2 separate regions of the Homo sapiens genome follow, and region 1 is linked to region 2. Evidence: promoter capture Hi-C in 16 types of primary human blood cells and fetal thymus (Javierre and others, 2016). All regions are on one chromosome and are shown on one strand. The core of a region is centred on a gene start or on the middle of the fragment in contact, and the rest is flanking DNA. Distances in the headings are between cores, read along the strand shown. Region 1 holds the start of VAT1 (vesicle amine transport 1). Region 2 has its middle 73 kb from the start of LINC00910.

The links. The method cuts DNA at HindIII sites, captures the fragments that hold promoters and counts their contacts. A CHiCAGO score of 5 or more calls a contact.
Region 1: the fragment with the promoter of VAT1 here is called in contact with a fragment that was not itself captured in region 2 in 1 of 17 cell types (endothelial precursors); the score reaches 5.0 in endothelial precursors.

What each region holds. Positions count from the first base shown.
Region 1 is chr17:43,020,707-43,025,151 of GRCh38, forward strand. VAT1 (vesicle amine transport 1) reads right to left here and starts at 1,679. Exons shown (of 6, transcript NM_006373.4): 1 at 1,230-1,679. The coding sequence starts at 1,616. RefSeq lists a silencer at 4,349-4,445. The HindIII fragment of the contact is 11,344 bases long and covers 1-4,445 here.
Region 2 is chr17:43,313,330-43,318,000 of GRCh38, forward strand. No RefSeq gene overlaps it. Among named protein-coding and RNA genes, the nearest start is that of LINC00910, 73 kb to the right of the region's middle. RefSeq lists enhancers at 2,076-2,713, 2,714-3,346. The HindIII fragment of the contact is 1,703 bases long and covers 1,803-3,505 here.

The DNA of each region.
Region 1 (4,445 bases), core at 429-2,928, 290 kb before region 2:
TCTCTACTAAAATACAAAATTAGCCAGGCATGGTGGCGCATGCCTGTAATCCCAGCTACTCGAGAGGCTGAGGCAGGAGAATCGCTTGAACCCGGGAGGCAGAGGTTGCGGTGAGCCGAGATCGCGCCATTGCACTCCAGCCTGGGCAACAAGAGCGAAACTCCGTCTAAAAAAAAAAAAAAAAAAAAAGAAAAAGAAAAAAAAAAGAAACCTCTAAACAAATGGCGTGCTGAGGCCTCATCCCAGGTCTCTCAAAAAGCTGATCATTTTGAGCTCTCTGGTGTCCAGGGTTGTGGCCAAGATTAATGATAAATGAGAAGGAGAAACAGGCCTGCAGACTTGGCCAACCAGTTCAAGGCGCCGCACCTCTCCGTTCCAGTCCAAACCCCTGGCACTGGGGTTTCTGAAGTGGGGGTCCTCTGCAGGAGGAAGGCAGAGGTGGGTCCCCCCTTCCACTCCCCGCCCCAGGCATTCCCAAGGGCAGCCCCGGGTCGTGGCCCGAAGGCTGAGGGCTGAGTCACAGGAGGAGGAGATACTGCAGTCACGGGAGACACAGAGCCCAAGACAAAGATCGGATGACCCAATCCCGCCTCCCCCACCCCAAAATCAGATCGGCGGTGTAAGGCTGGTGGCGGTGGGGTAGCAAAGGCTCTCTCTCCTCCGTGATGGGCGTGTCTCGTCTCTTTGGCCTTGCTTTGGGAGGGGCCGCCTCACACCCCCACAGACCACGGGGCTGCATGTGACCAGGACTCTGGCACGGCCGCTGTGCCCCCGCCCAACCCCGACGACATAGCCCCTCAAGCTCCCTCGGGGAAAGGGGGCACTAACCGTCACTCATAGTCACAGACCACAATTACCCAGAGAGTGTTTGGTGGGTAGGGGTACAGGTGTGGTTTTAATGGGGGGGGGGGGGGGGGGTGGGGACGGTAGTGTGGTTGTGCGCATGCGCATGGGCACCTTATTGTTTTCCCCCCCACCAGCACAGCTTCTGGGCGGCGGCCACAACTAAAAATGGTTGGGGAAGGGGCGATAATTTCGTCTCCCCTCCCCACATAAATGCCGCTCTCCAGGAGCCCCCAAACACAAGTTCCTTGGCTACGCTTTCCACGCTCGTGCACCCAGGTCCGCGCCAGTTTCTCCCGCCCTGCCACACCCCCGGCGCTCGCCCACTCGTGCCCCACTGCCCAGTGGCCTGCGCAGCCCTGCCCTGCCCTACGCAACCCGCTCACCTTGCGGTCGCTGACTCCCTCGCCCACTGCGATCACAACACCCGCGCCCTCCATGCCCGGAGTGACAGGCAGAGGCGGGAGACGGTCGTACAGCCCCTGCCTAGCCATGAGGTCTGCGAAGTTGAGCCCGCAGGCCCGCAGACGCAGCGTCAGCTGGCCGGGCCCAGGGGCCGGGGGCGCTGCCGGCCGGCTCTGCAGCTTCACCTTGTCGTAGCCTCCAAAGCCGGTGAGCACTAGGCAGCGCAGCAGTGGCGGCGAGGCGGCGGCGGCGGCGGCCCCTTCGGAGGCCGCGGGATGCTGGGGGTCGCTCGCTGCCTCGGTTTTCGGAGGCGGCGAAGAGGCGTCTTCCCCGGTCGCTGCCTCGGCTACCTCTCTCTCGTCGGACATGGCTGGGACTCCCGACGAGAGCGCACAGCTGGATGGAGAGTGCACAGCTGGGGAAGGCGGAACGCGTCGGGAAGAGCCGCGGCTGCGGGATCCAGCGGGAGGGGCGGGGCGCCGGGCGAGGCGGGGCCTCGCGCTCAGCCTTAAAGGGCCAGGGCCATAGTGGCGCAAGCTGGGAGAGCACGAAAAGGGGCACCAGGAACGTCTGTGCTCTTGGGATCAAGCCGACTGTGATTTATTTATTCATAGTAAACCTTATTCAAATTAAAAACTATTTTAAGGGATAGGCCTGGCGCGGTGGCTCACGCCTGTAATCCCAGCACTTTGGGAGGCCGAGGCTGGTGGATCATTTGAGGTCAGGAGTTCAAGACCAGCCTGGCCAACATGGTGAAACCCCCGTCTTTACTAAAAATAAAAAAGTTAGCCGGGCGGTAGTGGCGCGCGCCTGTAATCTCAGCTACTTGGGAGGCTGAGGCAGAGGAATCGCTTGAGCCTGGGAGGCGGAGGTGAGCCGAGATCGCGCCACTACACTCCAGTCTGGGCAACAGAGTGAGACCCTGTTAAAAAAAAAAAAAAAAAGGGCCGGGCGGCGTGGCTCACGCCTGTAATCCCAACACTTTGGGAGGCCGAGGCGGGTGGGTGGATCACCTGAGGTCAGGAATTCGAGACCAGCCTGACCAGTATGGTGAAACCCCAGCTCTACTAAAACTACAAAAATTAGCCAGGCATGGTGGCAGGTGCCTATAGTCCCAGCTACTAGGGAGGCGGAGGCTGGAGAATTGCTTGAACCCAGGAGGCGGAGGTTGCAGTTAGCCAAGATCATGCCGCTGCACTCCAGCCTGGGCTACAGAGGGAGACTCCATCTCGAAAAAAAAAAAGGCCGGGCGCGGTGTCTCACGCCTGTAATCCCAGCACTTTGGGAGGCCGAGGCGGGCAGATTACGAGGTCAGGAGATTCACCTGGCTAACACGGTGAAACCCCGTCTCTACTAAAAAATACAAAAAATTAGCCAGGCGTGGTGGCAGGCGCCTGTAGTCCCAGCTACCTGGGAGGCTGAGGCAGGAGAATGGCATGAACCCAGGAGGCAGAGCTTGCAGTGAGTCGAGATCGCGCCACTGCACTCCAGCCTGGGCTACAGAGCGAGACTCCGTCTCAAAAAAAAAAAAAAAAAGTTAAGGAACAGTCCCAAAACTTGAACTTACATCAGATTTGGAGTTAACTCATATCAGATTTGGAGTCAGCCACCTGTGGACTGGAGTCCAACTACATTGTGTCTCAGGCTCTGACATCTAACCCAGGCAGGGATGAGACTTAATTCACTGTGGTCTTGCAGTGGCAAAGTAGAAGCATGGAGACCAAGCCTTTAAAACTTTCTGACTTTGGTGTTAACGTTCTGTTCCTCATTTTCCCTTCTGTAACATAGTGATGATGCTGCGTGCTCTAGTTATATTTATATTTTTATTTTTTTGATACAGGGTCTCACTCTGTCACCCAGGCTGAGCGAGGTGGGGCGATCACAGCTCCCTACAGCCTCAAACTCCCGGCTTCAAGCAATCCTCCCACCTCAGCCTCCTGAATAGCTGGGACCACAGGCATGTGTCACCACGCCCGGCTAACTTTATGTTTTACTGCTCTTTGCAGAGCAGGGCTACCCCATAGGCAGCGTGCCTAGAGTGGCCAAACCTAGCTAAGTTTTGATTTTTTTTTCTAGAGAGAGGGTCTCGCTAATGTTGCCCAGGATGGCCTCAAACTCCTGCACGCAAGCAAGCCTTGGCCTCCCAAAGTGCTGAGTTTACAGGCGTGAGCCACCGCGCCCAGCTTCTAGTTATCTTTACAGAATTATTTGCAGCATATATTATTGACTCGAATTGCCTCGATATAAAAAAGCACTTTTTTTTTTTCGAAACTCTATTGCACAAGCTGGAGTGCAGTGAGGCAATCTCGGCTCACTGCAAGCTCCGCCTCCCGGGTTCACGCCATTCTCCTGCCTCAGCCTCCTGAGTAGCTGGGATTACAGGCGCCCACCGTGCGGGTTTCACCGTGTTAGCCAGGATGATAGTCTCGATCTCCTGACCTCTTGATCCGCCCGCCTCGGCCTCCCAAAGTGCTGGTATTACAGGCGTGAGCCACCGCGCCCGGCCTATTGTCAGACTCTTAATCAAGCCTGACTTTTGGGTTTAGCTCTGGCTCCAGCAGAGCAACTCTGGCGGTTGGTTCTTTCTCTTCCTTATCTCCTTGTCCCCAAGCATCCACCAGAGGACGCAGCTCCCCCAAAACTTTCCACCCAGTGCTTGGCTGGAGGAACTCAGTCCACGCTTCTCTGCTAGTCTAGGCCGGCGGTTAAGTCAATGTAACCGGAGACCCGGCTGCCCGTTGCCATGGGGACGGAAAGCTATGATGTCACCACCGTCCGGGTGGGTGTGCTGGGGTTCACCCTCCCATTTCCCCAAGACCCCCTGCCAGGACATAGGCGGACGCGGGAGAGAAAACCAAAGAGGCTCCCTCCTTCCCCTTAGCATCTCTCTCCCGCCGTGTTCAGGAAGTGGATGGCTGCCCCAGCTCTTGTCCGCACTGGTACACCTGCGTGCACGCGTGGGTACACAGCAGGCCCGAGCTTCGCGCTTGTGCCGCTCATATTCTACCCCTAAGAACTTCGCTTGAACTCTGACCTGCCCTTATATCCGAGAAAGTCAAATAAGCCCAGTTCGGCCTGTCCCAAACCGGCAGGGGCCCCTCAGACCACACCGGCGGGCTGGACCCCGGCTCTGAGGCCTCTGTTCCCAGGGCTCCGCCCAGATCTTCTGGGCCCCGCCCCCCGGCTGCGGGGGTGGG
Region 2 (4,671 bases), core at 1,404-3,903:
GCCTGGGCAACATAGAGAGAACCCATCTCTACTAAAATAAAAAAACAAAAAACAGTACCTGGGAAACCAAATTAGCAAGCAAAAGATGGCCTGATAAACACGAAAATGAGCAGAGAGGCAGTAAAATAGTGAGCCCTGCAGGGTCATGATACTTACCACAAGCCAGGAGATTTACTAATCACTTTCTATTGTAGGAAATATTAATATATTTAATATTCATTCATTCATTCAAAAAATATATACTGAGTGGCTACTATATGCCAGGCATTGTTCAGGGTGCCAGTCATATAAAAGTGAACAAGCGACAAAGATTCCTGCTCTGGAGCTTACATTCTACTATGCTAAAATGCAATAAACGTATCATTGTATAAAATGTGGGGTGACAGGTGCCACCGAGTAGAATAAAGCCAGGTAAAAGAGAACAGAGACCCTGTGTGGATGAGGGTAGAGAACGCCAGGACTACAGACTAGATTTTAAGATTCCTGTTTTATACAGGAAAAAAAATAAGCCTCAGAGGAGTGACTTGCCTAAGCTGTTTTCCCTTGCTTTTTTTTTTTTTTTTTTTTTTTTTTGATACGGCGTCTCGCTCAGTTGCCCAGGCTGGAGTGCAGTGGGTGGCATGGTCTTGGCTCATTGCAATCTCCACCTCCCAGGCTCAAGCAATTCTCCTGCTTCAGCCTCCCGATTAGCTGGGATTACAGGCACCCACCAACCATGCCCGACTTTTTTTTTTTTTTTTTTTTTTTTGAGACGGAGTCTTGCTCTGTCTCCCAGGCTGGAGTGCAATGGTGCCATTGTGGCTGACTACAGCCTCCGCCTCTGGGTTCAAGCGATTCTCCCACCTCAGCCCCCCAAGTAGCTGGGATTACAGGTGCCCACCACCACGCCTGGCTAATTTTTTGTATTTTTGGTAGAGAGGAGGTTTCACCATGTTGGCCAGGCCAGTCTCGAACTCCTGACCTCAGATGATCTGCCCGCCTAGGCCTCCCAAAGTACTGGGATTACAGGTGTGAGCCACCCTGCCTGGCTATTTGTTTTTTTTTTTTTTTTTTTTTTTTTTGAGATAGGGTCTCAGTCGGTCCCCCAGGTTGGAGTGGAGTGCAGTGGCCTGATCACAGCTCATTGCCACTTTGGCCTCCTGGGGCTCAAGCTGTTTTCCCAGGGCTCAAGTGGTCCTCCCAGGGCTCAAGTAGTCCCCCAAGCTCAGTCTCCCCAGTCACTGGGACTACAAGCCTGCTCCACCACGCCCGGTAGATTTTCTGGTTTTTTTTTTTTTTTTTTTTTTGTAGAGATGGGGCTCTCACTTTGTTGTCAAGGCTGGTCTCGAACTCCTGGGCTCAAGTGATCCTCCCATTTCGGCCTCCCAAAGTGTTGGGATTACAGGCATGAGCCACAGTGCCAGGGCCGAGGCTCTTCTCAACTGCTGCAGCAGACAGCTTGGTTCTTGCCTCTCTGCAGACAGAAGACTTGTGTCTCAGGCTCAGTGCTTTGTCTCACAGAGTGCTGGACACACAAGAACAAATTATCTTTCTCTAGGTATCCATTTTTGGCTCTAGGCTCTCTGCTTCACAGGTGGATGGAGTGATGGGGAAGATGCTGTGGCCAGTGCACCTAGGTTCAAATCCTACCTCCCTGTGGTCTTGGGCAAGCTGCTTAACCTCTCTGCCTCAGCTTCTGCATCTGTATGTAACTTTTGCAAGTTTGTAATGAGGAGAGCACTTAACACAGAGCCTAAGCCAAACAGTAAATGCTTCCTATTTTATTGTCTCAGTCATTTCACAGTCATGACCCCTTCTGGGGAAGCTTGTGGGAAACTCTGACTCACATTGCAGACTACCGAGCCACGGTCCCTTCCTCGGCTCCGTTTCTGCTCCCTCCACCCCACGAGGTAGGCATTGGTGTTTCTGCTTTCCAGCTGGGGAAACAGAGTCCGGAGGTTAAGTGGTTTGCCCCCAGTGCCCCGCCGACAGGGCAAGGCGCGCGGACGGGGCTGTGACTCCCAGGGCGGCAGCCCCCTCGGCGCGGTCTCGCGACCCGACTTCTCTCTGTGGCCCCGGGAAGGGGGTGGGGGGCGGCGGGGCCTCGTCGGCTCCGCCTTCGCTTGGGACCCAGCCAGGCCGCGGGACGCTCCAGTCTTTACAGTGATGACCTGATGGCTTTCCTCAAAAGAGCTCGGACCACTCTCCTCCAACTCCCTTCCACAGACCGCTAGTGACGCCCACGCGCATTTCCCCCTGACCACTGTCTTGACCCCCGGATGGTCCAGACCGGGAGCCCCAGCCCAGCTTCGGCCGGCCGCTGCGAGCAGAGCTGGACCGCAGCGGGGACTCAGATCGCCGTAGCCACGCCTACCCACGCGGGAAAGGGCGAGACATGCAAATTAGAAATGGCGCTTCAGCCACGGGGCAAAAACAGAGCTGAGAATTCACTTGAAAACGTAGCCAACTATAAACCATGCCCAAAGGCTTGCTGTTTTCAACAGGCCTATTGAGAAACGAAGTTGTCAATTGCCCCTATCGTTGCTCACCGTGGGTGTAATATGGTGATATGAGGGTGGTAATGGCGAAGGCAAAGATGCTGGATTCGACAAATTTTTCCAGATCTCTGTTTGTGGTGAGGTGTAATTATGTGTGTTTTTCCTAGCTTAGTGTGTGCGTTCTTTCTTTTTGTTTCTGAGAATGCTGTGTTGAGGGGGTTTTTGGAGAAAACGGTGGGGTTGGGAGGTTGTAGTACTTCAAACAAAGGTGAACGATTTTTTAGGTGAGTGAGCGTTGTGTTTTAAAGGTTATACTTTGTTATATTCACGTTCTTATTGCGTTATATCATGCTTCAGAATTGGTCGTCAATATCCTTGTCTAGGTGAGAGTATGTGTGACCAGCCCCCTCCCCGCCTTTTTTTTTTTTTTTTTTTGTCTTATAGAGTGTCACTTTTGTCATCCAGGCTGGAGTGCAGTGGCGGGATGAGAGTTCACTATGATCTCGACTTCCTGGACTCAGATGGTTCTCCCACTTCAGCTTCCGGATCTAATATTTCAATAATTTCAAGAACACTGCATTCATTCCTCTCCACATGAGCAATTGCCAAAAGTAGGCTTTACATTTTTGCTCGTTTTCTTTTGGGTCTGTGGCTAGTCTCCACTTCCTTTTTTTTTTTTTTTTTTTTTTTTTTTTTTTTAAGATAGTCTCACTCTGTCCCCCACAACCCCCAACCCCGGCTGGAGTGCAGTGGCCAGATCTGGGCTTACTGCAACCTCTGCCTCCCAAGTTCAGGTGATTCTTGTGCCTCAGCCTCCTGAGTAGCTGGGATTACAGGCACGTGCCCACCATGACTGGCTAATTTTTTGCATTTTTAGTAGAGACGGGGTTTTGCCATGTTGGCCAGGTTGGTCTCGAACGCCTGGCCTCAAAGTGATCCACCCGTTTGGGCCTCCCAAAGTGCTGGGATTACAGGCCTGAGTTACTGCACCCGGCCTGTCCCCGAAATTCGATTGCAGCCGGCGATAAAGCTTTTTTTTACCCCGCTTCTCGGCAAAGCGTTGTGTTTTTATTTTAGCAGACTCACCTGGCACTAAGGACTGCTCTGGTGGTCTTCGGAGGCTCCTGGGATCGACTGCTTGGACAGAGGTGACATCACCCAATTAGTGAGAGCCAAGACCTAAGGCTGCAGCTGCCTTCCAGGTATCTGCCACTCACTGTAGAACGATCCCACAGTTCTGCATTTCTGCCCTATGCCCGCCAGTCACAAGAAGCTCCGGTCTCTTATCCCATGTCTGATTCCTGAAACCTTGCTAATTTTCCTACCATCCTCCCTATTCCCAGCCTCCTTTCTTCTTCTTCTTCTTCTTCTTCTTTTTTTTTTTTTTTTGAGGCTGAGTTTCACTCTTGTTGCCTAGGCTGGAGTGCAATGGTGCGATCTCGGCTCACTGCAACCTCCACCTCCTGGGTTCAAGCGATTCTCCTGCCTCAGCCTCCAGAGTAGCTGGGATTACAGGCATGTGCCACCACGCCCGGCTAAATTTTTTTTGTATTTTTAGTAGAGATGGGGTTTCTCCATGATGGTCAGGCTGGTCTCAAACTGCCAAACTCAGGTGATCCACCCGCACTGGCCTCCCAAAGTGCTGGGATTACAGGTGTGAGCCACTGTGCCCGGCCCCCCTTTCTTCGTTTGCTCTATCCTCCCGCTGAAGACATTGCTTTCCTCTTTCTGTTTGCTCTCCCCACCTCTCACTCCATTGTGCCTTGCACCTGTGCTGCCCACTACCTCTCCTTGTTGCTGTTGTCTCTCCTGGCTGCTGGTCACTCCATGCCAACACTTACTTTATTCCTTGAAGGTTTTTAGCTCCTGGAGCACTGACTTTCTCCAGCATAACTCCTGTCATCAATCGACACCCTGGTTCCCCAATTCCTTGACCTCAGCTTTGACTACCCCAGCCACTCACTTCCCTGGTCTAACCCTAGGTCATGTCATTGTCGATTGCCATAACCCCATCCACTTCGAGGGTCACACTCTCCAATCACCTCTACCATCCCTCCCTCTGCTACCCTTTGGTACCTGTCACCCCACTCCCCACCCCCTCAACCCGCATCCCCAAAGTCCTTGGGCCCACCTCCAACTAATCTAACTGCACCAACTCTAACAAACTGCACCTGTGTCACTGAGTGTAACTGGT